Regions from separate parts of the Homo sapiens genome. Here all the other regions are linked to region 2. The links are contacts of gene promoters, found by promoter capture Hi-C in blood cells and fetal thymus (Javierre and others, 2016). All regions are on one chromosome and are shown on one strand. Each heading gives the region's core, a stretch centred on a gene start or on the middle of the fragment in contact. The rest is flanking DNA. Distances are from core to core; before and after follow the strand shown.

Region 1 (2,700 bases), core at 42-2,541, 930 kb before region 2:
ATAAAAAAACCACTGGTGGCCGGGCACAGTGGCTCACACCTATAATCTCAGAAATTTGGGAGACTGAGGTAGGCGGATCACTTGAGGTCAGGAGTTCAAGACCAGCCTGGCCAACATGGTGAAACCCTGTCGCTGCCAAAAATACAAAAAAAATCAGCCGAGTGTGGTGGCACAGTAGGAGAATCGCTTAAACCCGGGAGGCAGAGGATGCAGTGAGCCAAGATTGTGCCACTGCATGCCAGCCTGGTGACAGAGTGAGACTTGGCCCCCCAGCCAAAAAAAAAAAAAAAAAAACACTAAACCACTGGTTACCCCAGCAGCACACGAAGGTACTTCTGGCTTATTTAACAAACGTGTGTATACTGATTTTTGAAAATGCAAGTTACATTCTAAACGCAATTGTCAAGCTTTCTAAATGAAGATATTCTAATATGAATCATTTTATCAAGCAAATAAATTTTACTTACATTTTGTATAACTCTAGACGTTCAAATTTGGCCTGCTATAAGTTCGAGTAATCCAGAAGTGTTAATATTACATAAGAGTTAATAAAAACTTTTAAAAATCACTTTCCATGCCAGGTACTATTTTAGCGTTTTACTTATTTTTAATCCTCCAAGCAACACTATTAGGAAAGTACTATTATTTTCTCCATTACACAGATGAGAAACTAAGAAGTTAAGCAATTTGCAAAAGGGAGTATTAATTACACCCTAATATTCTTTTTCCTTTCAAATGTAGCTGAAAGAACTGACTGGCCAGGAAATCCAGCATCTTATCCTAGTTTTGTCTCTGATCAGCGATGACCAGCTAGCTAAATGTACTCCTGTATCAAATGAGGGGTTCAGCCAGATGCCATCTCAGGTCTTGTCTACCACTAAAATGCTATGCCATTGTAAATGCTATTTTCCATCCCTATTTACAATCCCTTTAACCACTGAATACAATTTTCTGAAAAATAAATATTTTAATAAATGGAAGTTCAATTTAGGGGATTCCCATTCATTTGACAAATATATACTGCATCAGGCACTGTCCTAAATGCAAGTATTCTATTTTGCCAAATGATTTTCAGAGAAAGATTTACACATTAATTAGGTACTTTAACAGTATGGCACCCTCAGTGGAGCAAAATTCTCACTTTATAGGTCAACAGAATCTGCTAGAAGAGATATCCGCCAACCCGCAGCCCAGGACAGCTTTGAATGCAGCCCAATACAAATTTGTAAACTTTCTTAAAACATGAGTTTTTTTTTTTAAGCTCATCAGCCATCATTAGTGTATATTATGTGTGGCCCATGACAATTCTTCTTCTTCCAATGTGGCCCAGGGCAGCCAAAAGATTGGACACCCCTGCTCTAAAACCATGCAGTAACCCTTGAAGGCAGGGACTGTCCTTATGTGGTATCCCCAAAGCCTAGTATAACACCCAGCTGAGTAAAACACTTTCTAAGTGTCAGAACCTAACTCCAGGACACTAGGACACACACACTGTCTGGTAACATTGAGAAAGCTGCTTCAGTCTACCAGAAACATTCCAAGTCTTATCACTGGGCTGCTGGCATTAACACCAAAAAATAATATTAATAAAGCACTTAAGAGAAGACAGAATGGTTAGATCCTAAACTAAATGATACTATCCTAATTATCCTGCTTTCCATCACAAAGAAAAAAGGTTTGCCCAAGAAAATGGTCCCCACAATTGCCCAAGTAGCTTGGGGTTATGTTAATAAACTTTCTGGGCTGTGACAAGTTCCAAATGACTAAAAAACAGGTACATACCTGGTGAGTTTGCTACTGAGTCAAAATGACAATTAGCCAAGACAGCATGCTGGGCTCCATCTCTGGGTTCCAGCTTTACCACAACATTGGTGATGTTGTCATAATAGCTTGTAAAACCTCCCAAGAAATCAATGCTAAAAGAGCCTGTGGGCCGTTGTACATCTACTGAAATCTTATGAAGGCTGTTGCTTTGCACTTCAATCAGTTTAATCTGTTCCAAAAGGTAGTGCACGGTCAGAATTTCATTTTCTGGACTTCCTGTAGTCCTGGGGCCAATGGAGGTTATGTGTTCAAGATAATCCCTGGAAGTAACCAAAAGAATAACAAAGGTTTGTAGTTAAAATTGACACTTAGCGTGGGTAACTTTTCCACTACACACCCCTTCCTCCCCAAAAAAGCTTAGTTCTTTGCCTTATATAAAAGGGACCGCCTTTCATTATTTCAGACACCAAGTGAACATCACTTATAAAGTTCCATATTTTTATTGTTGCCTCCCACGAGTTGACCCCTTCAGTTTTCTCCACCATCCCACTCCCAACTTCTCCCCATATCAAACCAATACAAGGACTAGGGATGTATTCAAAACGTGTGACCACTGGCCAGGCACGGTGGCTCACGCCTGTAATCCCAGGACTTTCGGAGGCTGAGGTGGGTGGATTGCTTGAGCTCAGGAGTTTGAGACCAGCCTGGGCAACATGGTGAAACCCCATCTCTTCTAAAACTACAAAAACTAGCCAGATGTAGACTACTATCCGCCTGTAGTCCCAGCTACTCAAGAGGCTGAGGTGGGAGGACTGCTTGAACCTGGGAGGTGGAGGCTACAGACCCGAGATGGAGCCACTGCACTCCAGCCTGGGCGACAGAGCCAGGCCCTGTCTCAGAAAACAAACAAAAAAAGCTAAAGACTAAGCAGGATAG
Region 2 (2,700 bases), core at 156-2,655:
TTAGCTGGGCGTGGTGGCGGGCGACTGTAATCCCAGCTACTCGGGAGGCTGAGGCAGGAGAATCTCTCGAACCCGTGAGGCGGAGGTTGCAGTAAGCCGAGATAGCGCCATTGCACTCCAAACTGGGCGACACAGCAAGACTCCGTCTCAAAAAAGAGTGTGTCTGTGTGTGTAGCGGAACTTTGTTTTTAACAACTAAAGAAATATGGTGACCCAATAATCCCGTTAGCCTTAGCTCAATTAATCACATTCCATCTGTCCTCACAATGTTCACCCCAGTGAGAAACGAGTTCAAGCGCGTGGTAAGCGGTGTCGATATATTTTTAAAATTCTGTTATCAGTATAATGTAACAGAAAATTCAGCATATTAGCCCAACTTTGCTCACTGGTGTGAAGATATGCCCAATCTTTCTTAGCTAAGACGTTAGAGAAAACGCCACAAGGGACCCAGCTGGGAGCTCTGTAGGAAGTTTAAAAAAAAAATCATTCAGCTTTGCAAAACATCTGATGCTCAACCATCTGTCTTTGGCAGTACAGGGGCTTAAGGTCTGGTTGGTTCCTTCTGACACCTCGGAAGGCGGAGTTACAGAGGAAAAGCAACAAGTTGTAGGAAGTTAACTTATCTAGTCTCAGACGCTGGAGGCACCTGCATTTCTAGTCACTTCAGTTCTGGCCAAACTGTTATCAACTCTAGTTTCTGAGGGACCGCCAGCCCAGGATTCCTATTGGGGTCACCTTTGTGCCTCCCTATCTTAAGAGCACACTTGGGCGGGTCGGGGCGGGACGTGCTGGGTGTAGGTGACTCAACACCGGACAGTTTTGCTTCCAGAGGCTGACACGCTCCTGCGCGGTAGTTGTTAAAGGGTTGGGACACGAAGATACTCTTCGCCTATTCGGGATCTCCCATTGTGGGAAGGAGGCTCAGTGGTCCCGGCCACCGGGTGAAGGGAGAACGGGAACACAGCGCTGTCATCGCCGGAGAGCTGCGAGCCCCGACTTTCTCGCCAGGCTCTCCAGTACATTCCGAGGCTCCACCCCGGTAACGCCACGCTGACGTCCGCGCGTCGGAGGCCGCCATAGGTGCGCGTCGGCGCCCAGGAGGACGTGTGGCGCGTGGACTACATCAGGTCCAGCCCTGCGGGACCCCAGCCAGCGCTTCCGGGCAAGGTTCTGTGCACCTGTTTTCTCCTTCTACGCGAGTATCTTTCCCCTCCGGAAAGAATGGGATATGCCTGTGTCCAAAGGACAAGAAGATGCGCGCCAGCAAGCCTAAGTTAACCACAGCGCGGAAGTTGAGCCCAAAGCAAGAGCGTGCCGGGCACCTTTAAGCTGTTTGTAAGCCCACGTGACTCACCAAGTGCGGGCCCCAGCGGTCACGTGACGGCGCGCGCGCCCTCGCGCAGGGAGAGCCGGCGGTGCGCGCGCCTTCGCCGCTGCCTCCCACCCACCCCCTCGACGGGAGGGTGAGGCGCGGCGCAGTGATCGGGCGGCCGGGGTCCTGTGCGCGTGCGCAGCGAACAGCTGTCACCTAGTGCGGAACAAGTCTCCCAAATTTCCCAAATCTCCCTGGGCCGGAGGCCACTGTCTTCTCTTCCTCCTCCACCGAGTCGTGCTCTCGCCCCAACCCGCGCGCCAGGTAACCGCTTTTCCGGAGTCTGGGGGCCAGGGCGGGGGGAGGGTCCGGAGAGGTCTTCCCGGCACTGCCCCCCTCCGCGTGGGGCACGGGGGTGCGGGCGTCCGGGCGAGCGGCGACGCTGGGGCAGAGACGCTCCGTCCGTGACTGCAGCGACTGTCAAGCTGGGGAGGGAGCGGCCGGCCGCGGCCGCAGGGGAGGGATGCGGGGGCCGGTGACAGCCCGCTCCGGCCCTTACCGAGGTTCGGTACCCGCGCTCGCCGTTTTCCCGGGATCCGGAGTCGGGGTCGCCTCCTTGGGGCAGAGGAGCGCTCGGGCGGTCCTGGGATGCGGACCTCTTAACGCCGCCAGTCGGCTGTGGCGGACTCCAGGAAGGCCGGGCCTGGTGCACCCCTCGGGGCCCTCCCTTCCCTGGGAGTGTCACGACCCGCGGGGTGAGGGTGGGAGCTCCTCTCCTGACCACCCGTTGCAGGCAGTCATCCCGTCATTCGGGGTCGTCTTCAGCCCTCGCGGCTGTCCTTTTGGTGTTTCTTTCCCCCGGCATGGGGCCATTTCTTCCTGCAGTGCCTGGAGGAACCATGATGCGGTGTAGACGGCGGGTGCTTAAATAAATGCGAGTTGGATTAGGGCGCGTGGACTGCCAGGCACAGAACGTGGCGTGGAGTGGGGACGTGGAGGAGGGAGCCAGACAGGCCGGGGCTGTAGGCAGGAGCTTGGGGTTTTCCTCTGTGCTCCGCCAGTAAAGCCAGCAGCCGGGATTCAGATGCTTTCCGCGTGGACTTGATGCTGGGCTCCCCCTTTGCTGCGCGGTGCAAGCCTGCGCTGGCTGGCTCTGATTGTGGGCAATACTACCGGGAGGGGTTTTGTCAGGTTCCTTCTTCCGGAAGAGACAAGGTAAACTTTTTTTTGCGCTTGATAAACTAACCCCGAGAGGTGATTTATAAAGCACTGTTCGGAAATGTAGGTTAGAAAAGCAGAGTCACTTTTATCCTGGTGAAAGTTACTAGTAGGTTCCGGCCACTTAGGTTCACACTAAACTCTGCCCTATTTTCACCCATTTCAGTTTG
Region 3 (2,700 bases), core at 128-2,627, 740 kb before region 2:
TCTTGCATAAATTTTTCCTTCCCAACAGCAAGACCAATATGGCTAATGCACTCGATAGTTTTTCCTCTCAGAAGCTTGAGTTCCTTCTGAACAGCAAGCTCAACAATGTGCTTTAGTGAGGGCATGAATATATCATAATATGGGACAAATTTTTCTTCTATTGTATCTGCAACTGATGCAATGGTTGTCACAAGTTGTTCCAAAGCCAACTTAGTTCCATTCCGAATCAACTCTTGAAGTTTAATCACCAAGACGGAATGTAGATTTTTCACCATACTATCCACATATAGAACTAGCAATGATTTAGGGCAGTCTTCAATAAAAATAATAAGAGCAGAAGCTGCATGTGATTGCACACGCTGATTACCTTGATTTTCCATGGTACGTAACAGAGCTGCAATCACTGTTTCATGAAATTTCTTTTGGAAATTAGGTGCAAAATCTGTAGCCATCTGTCCAAGTGTAGTACAGGCTGCAGCCCTCACCCTTGGATGAGGATCCTGAAGAAAAAGCAAAACGGAGTTAACTGTTTCATCTAGAATTGATTCCATTTGTTGATGGCATCCTTCTCCAATGGCAGATAAGGCCATTAATCCAGCATGTCGATACTTCCAGTCAGGGCTCTGAAGCATCTGCATGATATGCTCCTTGGTCATTGGTAAAACAACTTTTCCACCAAGCCCACAAGCCAGTCTGTCTAGTGCACTCTCCGCAGCAACTGCATTGCTGTCAAAATCATCTTCTTCCATTTCATCAGCATTTACCCAGTCCTCATCATCTTGTAGATCAACCATCATTGCTAATATATGAGGAACTGCCTGTGCAATAATATTTGTATGTTTTTTCAACATCGGAGTGGCAGTTTCAGACAAGGTCACTATAACTTCGAGGGCCAGCTGGCGCTGCAGATTACTAAGCCTAGAGTCTCCACATAACTTCAAACTCAACTGTAGAGTATCTTCTAAATAAGGACCCAAGTACTTAGGTACGGTATCTGCAATCTCAACAAGGGATTCTAGCACTGAATCATCATCCTGGTAGCATGAGTCATTCACAGCCTGTAAGATTCCAGGAAGCAAGTCTGCAAAGTCTTTGAAAAGAGCAATATTATTCTCATTAGCAAGTACAAATGCAGCTGCAGCTCTAGCGGATAATGTCCTGATTGCTGGATGTTCTTGATCTTGAATACACTGGTCCAACAACCGTTTGATGATATCCAAATCATGCCGCTCTTGGGTCCCAAAAATCCCAGGAAAGTGCCAGAAAACGTGAAGTGCAACTTCCCATAGAACCACATTTTTGGAGTAGATTGAATCAATAAGAAACTTCAGACCTTCCGGCCAGTGGTTAGTGCCATCCTCATCTATCAAATTCCTGGCCAGCACTGCAAAAATATCACAAAGTTTTTTCCTCATGCTAGCATGTGTTTCTAACTTAACAGCCAGAATCAGTTCAATCTTGACATCTCTCTGAACATCAGCAGGCAGATTTGGATAAACCTCCTCAAACCCAGAGGACAAAAGCCGTCGTAGCAGTGCGGCAGCCATTTGTCTCACCTCATAACCTGCTCTTCTATTTCTGACGGCATCTAAGAGGAAGGTAGTCTTACACAGACCTGGGATATTTTCATAGATTTCCTCTGCTTGCCTCCGCACCATACAGCTTGGATTGATCAGGTTCTTCAGAAGCTGGTAAAACTCTTGCTTTTCTGACACGGTCGCCGGCACCCCTGCAGACGCGGTTGCCGCCATTGCGCTCTGTCAAAGCTACCGCGACCGGGAAGGAGGGAGGGGGTCTGCGGCTCGAAGCAGTGACGTAGGCGAGGCGCCGGCGGGGATGGGCGGGGTGCTTCTCCCTCCTCTGCCCAGAAACTCTAGCTGCGCTCTGGCAGGCTGCGAGCTAGGTTTTGGAGAGAGGTGAGAGCCGTGTGGAGGCCAATGGCATCCTCCATTTGTTTTTCAATAAGATAAACGTGCACTTGCAGGCGAGAGAAGAAAAGCATTGATTAGAATGGGATCATGACTTTTTTTTTTTTTGGATACAAGGTCTGGCTGTGTCACCTAGGCTGGAGTATAGCGGCGCGATCCCTGCTCACTGCAGCCTCAACCTCCTGGGCTCAAGCGATCCTCCCCGCCTCAGTTCCCCCAGTAGCTGGGACCACAGGCGCGCGCCACCACGCCCGGCTAATTGTGTTTTTTATAGAGACAGGGTTTCGCCATGTTGCCCAGGCTGGTCTCGAACTCCTGGGCTCAGGTGATCTGCCCGCCTCGGCCTCCCGAAGTACTGGGAATACAGGTGTGAGCCACTGCTTCTGGTCAGATTATGAGTGATTTTTTTCTTTTATTTCTAAACTATATTGTTACTTTGATAATTTTAAAACAATAAGTCTATCTTGAAAACATGCCAAGTGAAAGAAACCAGTCACAACCACATATTGTATGATTCCATTTGTATGAAAGGTACCAAACAGGCAAATTGTATAACAGAAATTAGTGGTTGCCAGAGGTTGGGGGGAGGGGAGGATAGAGAATGACTGCTATCAAATAGGGTGTTTCTTTCTGAGTGATGAAATGTTCTAAAATTAATTGTGATGGTTGCACAATTCTGTGATTATACTAAAAACCATTGAGTTGTTAAATTTAAATTGGTGAATTGTATGGCATATAAATAATACTACAATAAAGCTTTATAAAATAATAA

What was found. The method cuts DNA at HindIII sites, captures the fragments that hold promoters and counts their contacts. A CHiCAGO score of 5 or more calls a contact.
Region 1: a fragment that was not itself captured here is called in contact with the fragment with the promoter of KDM4C in region 2 in 1 of 17 cell types (activated CD4 T cells); the score reaches 5.7 in activated CD4 T cells.
Region 3: a fragment that was not itself captured here is called in contact with the fragment with the promoter of KDM4C in region 2 in 4 of 17 cell types (M2 macrophages, monocytes, naive CD4 T cells and 1 more); the score reaches 5.9 in M2 macrophages.

What each region holds. Positions count from the first base shown.
Region 1 is chr9:5,828,945-5,831,644 of GRCh38, forward strand. ERMP1 (endoplasmic reticulum metallopeptidase 1) reads right to left here. Exons shown (of 15, transcript NM_024896.3): 2 at 1,783-2,084. Among named protein-coding and RNA genes, the nearest start is that of ERMP1, 2.8 kb to the right of the region's middle. The HindIII fragment of the contact is 1,773 bases long and covers 406-2,178 here.
Region 2 is chr9:6,756,568-6,759,267 of GRCh38, forward strand. KDM4C (lysine demethylase 4C) reads left to right here and starts at 1,406. Exons shown (of 22, transcript NM_015061.6): 1 at 1,406-1,636. RefSeq lists enhancers at 1-208, 940-1,299, 2,500-2,700 and silencers at 1,340-1,579, 1,670-1,839. The HindIII fragment of the contact is 10,552 bases long and covers 1-2,700 here.
Region 3 is chr9:6,013,857-6,016,556 of GRCh38, forward strand. RANBP6 (RAN binding protein 6) reads right to left here and starts at 1,768. Exons shown (of 1, transcript NM_012416.4): 1 at 1-1,768. The coding sequence starts at 1,751. RefSeq lists an enhancer at 1,587-1,646. The HindIII fragment of the contact is 2,610 bases long and covers 73-2,682 here.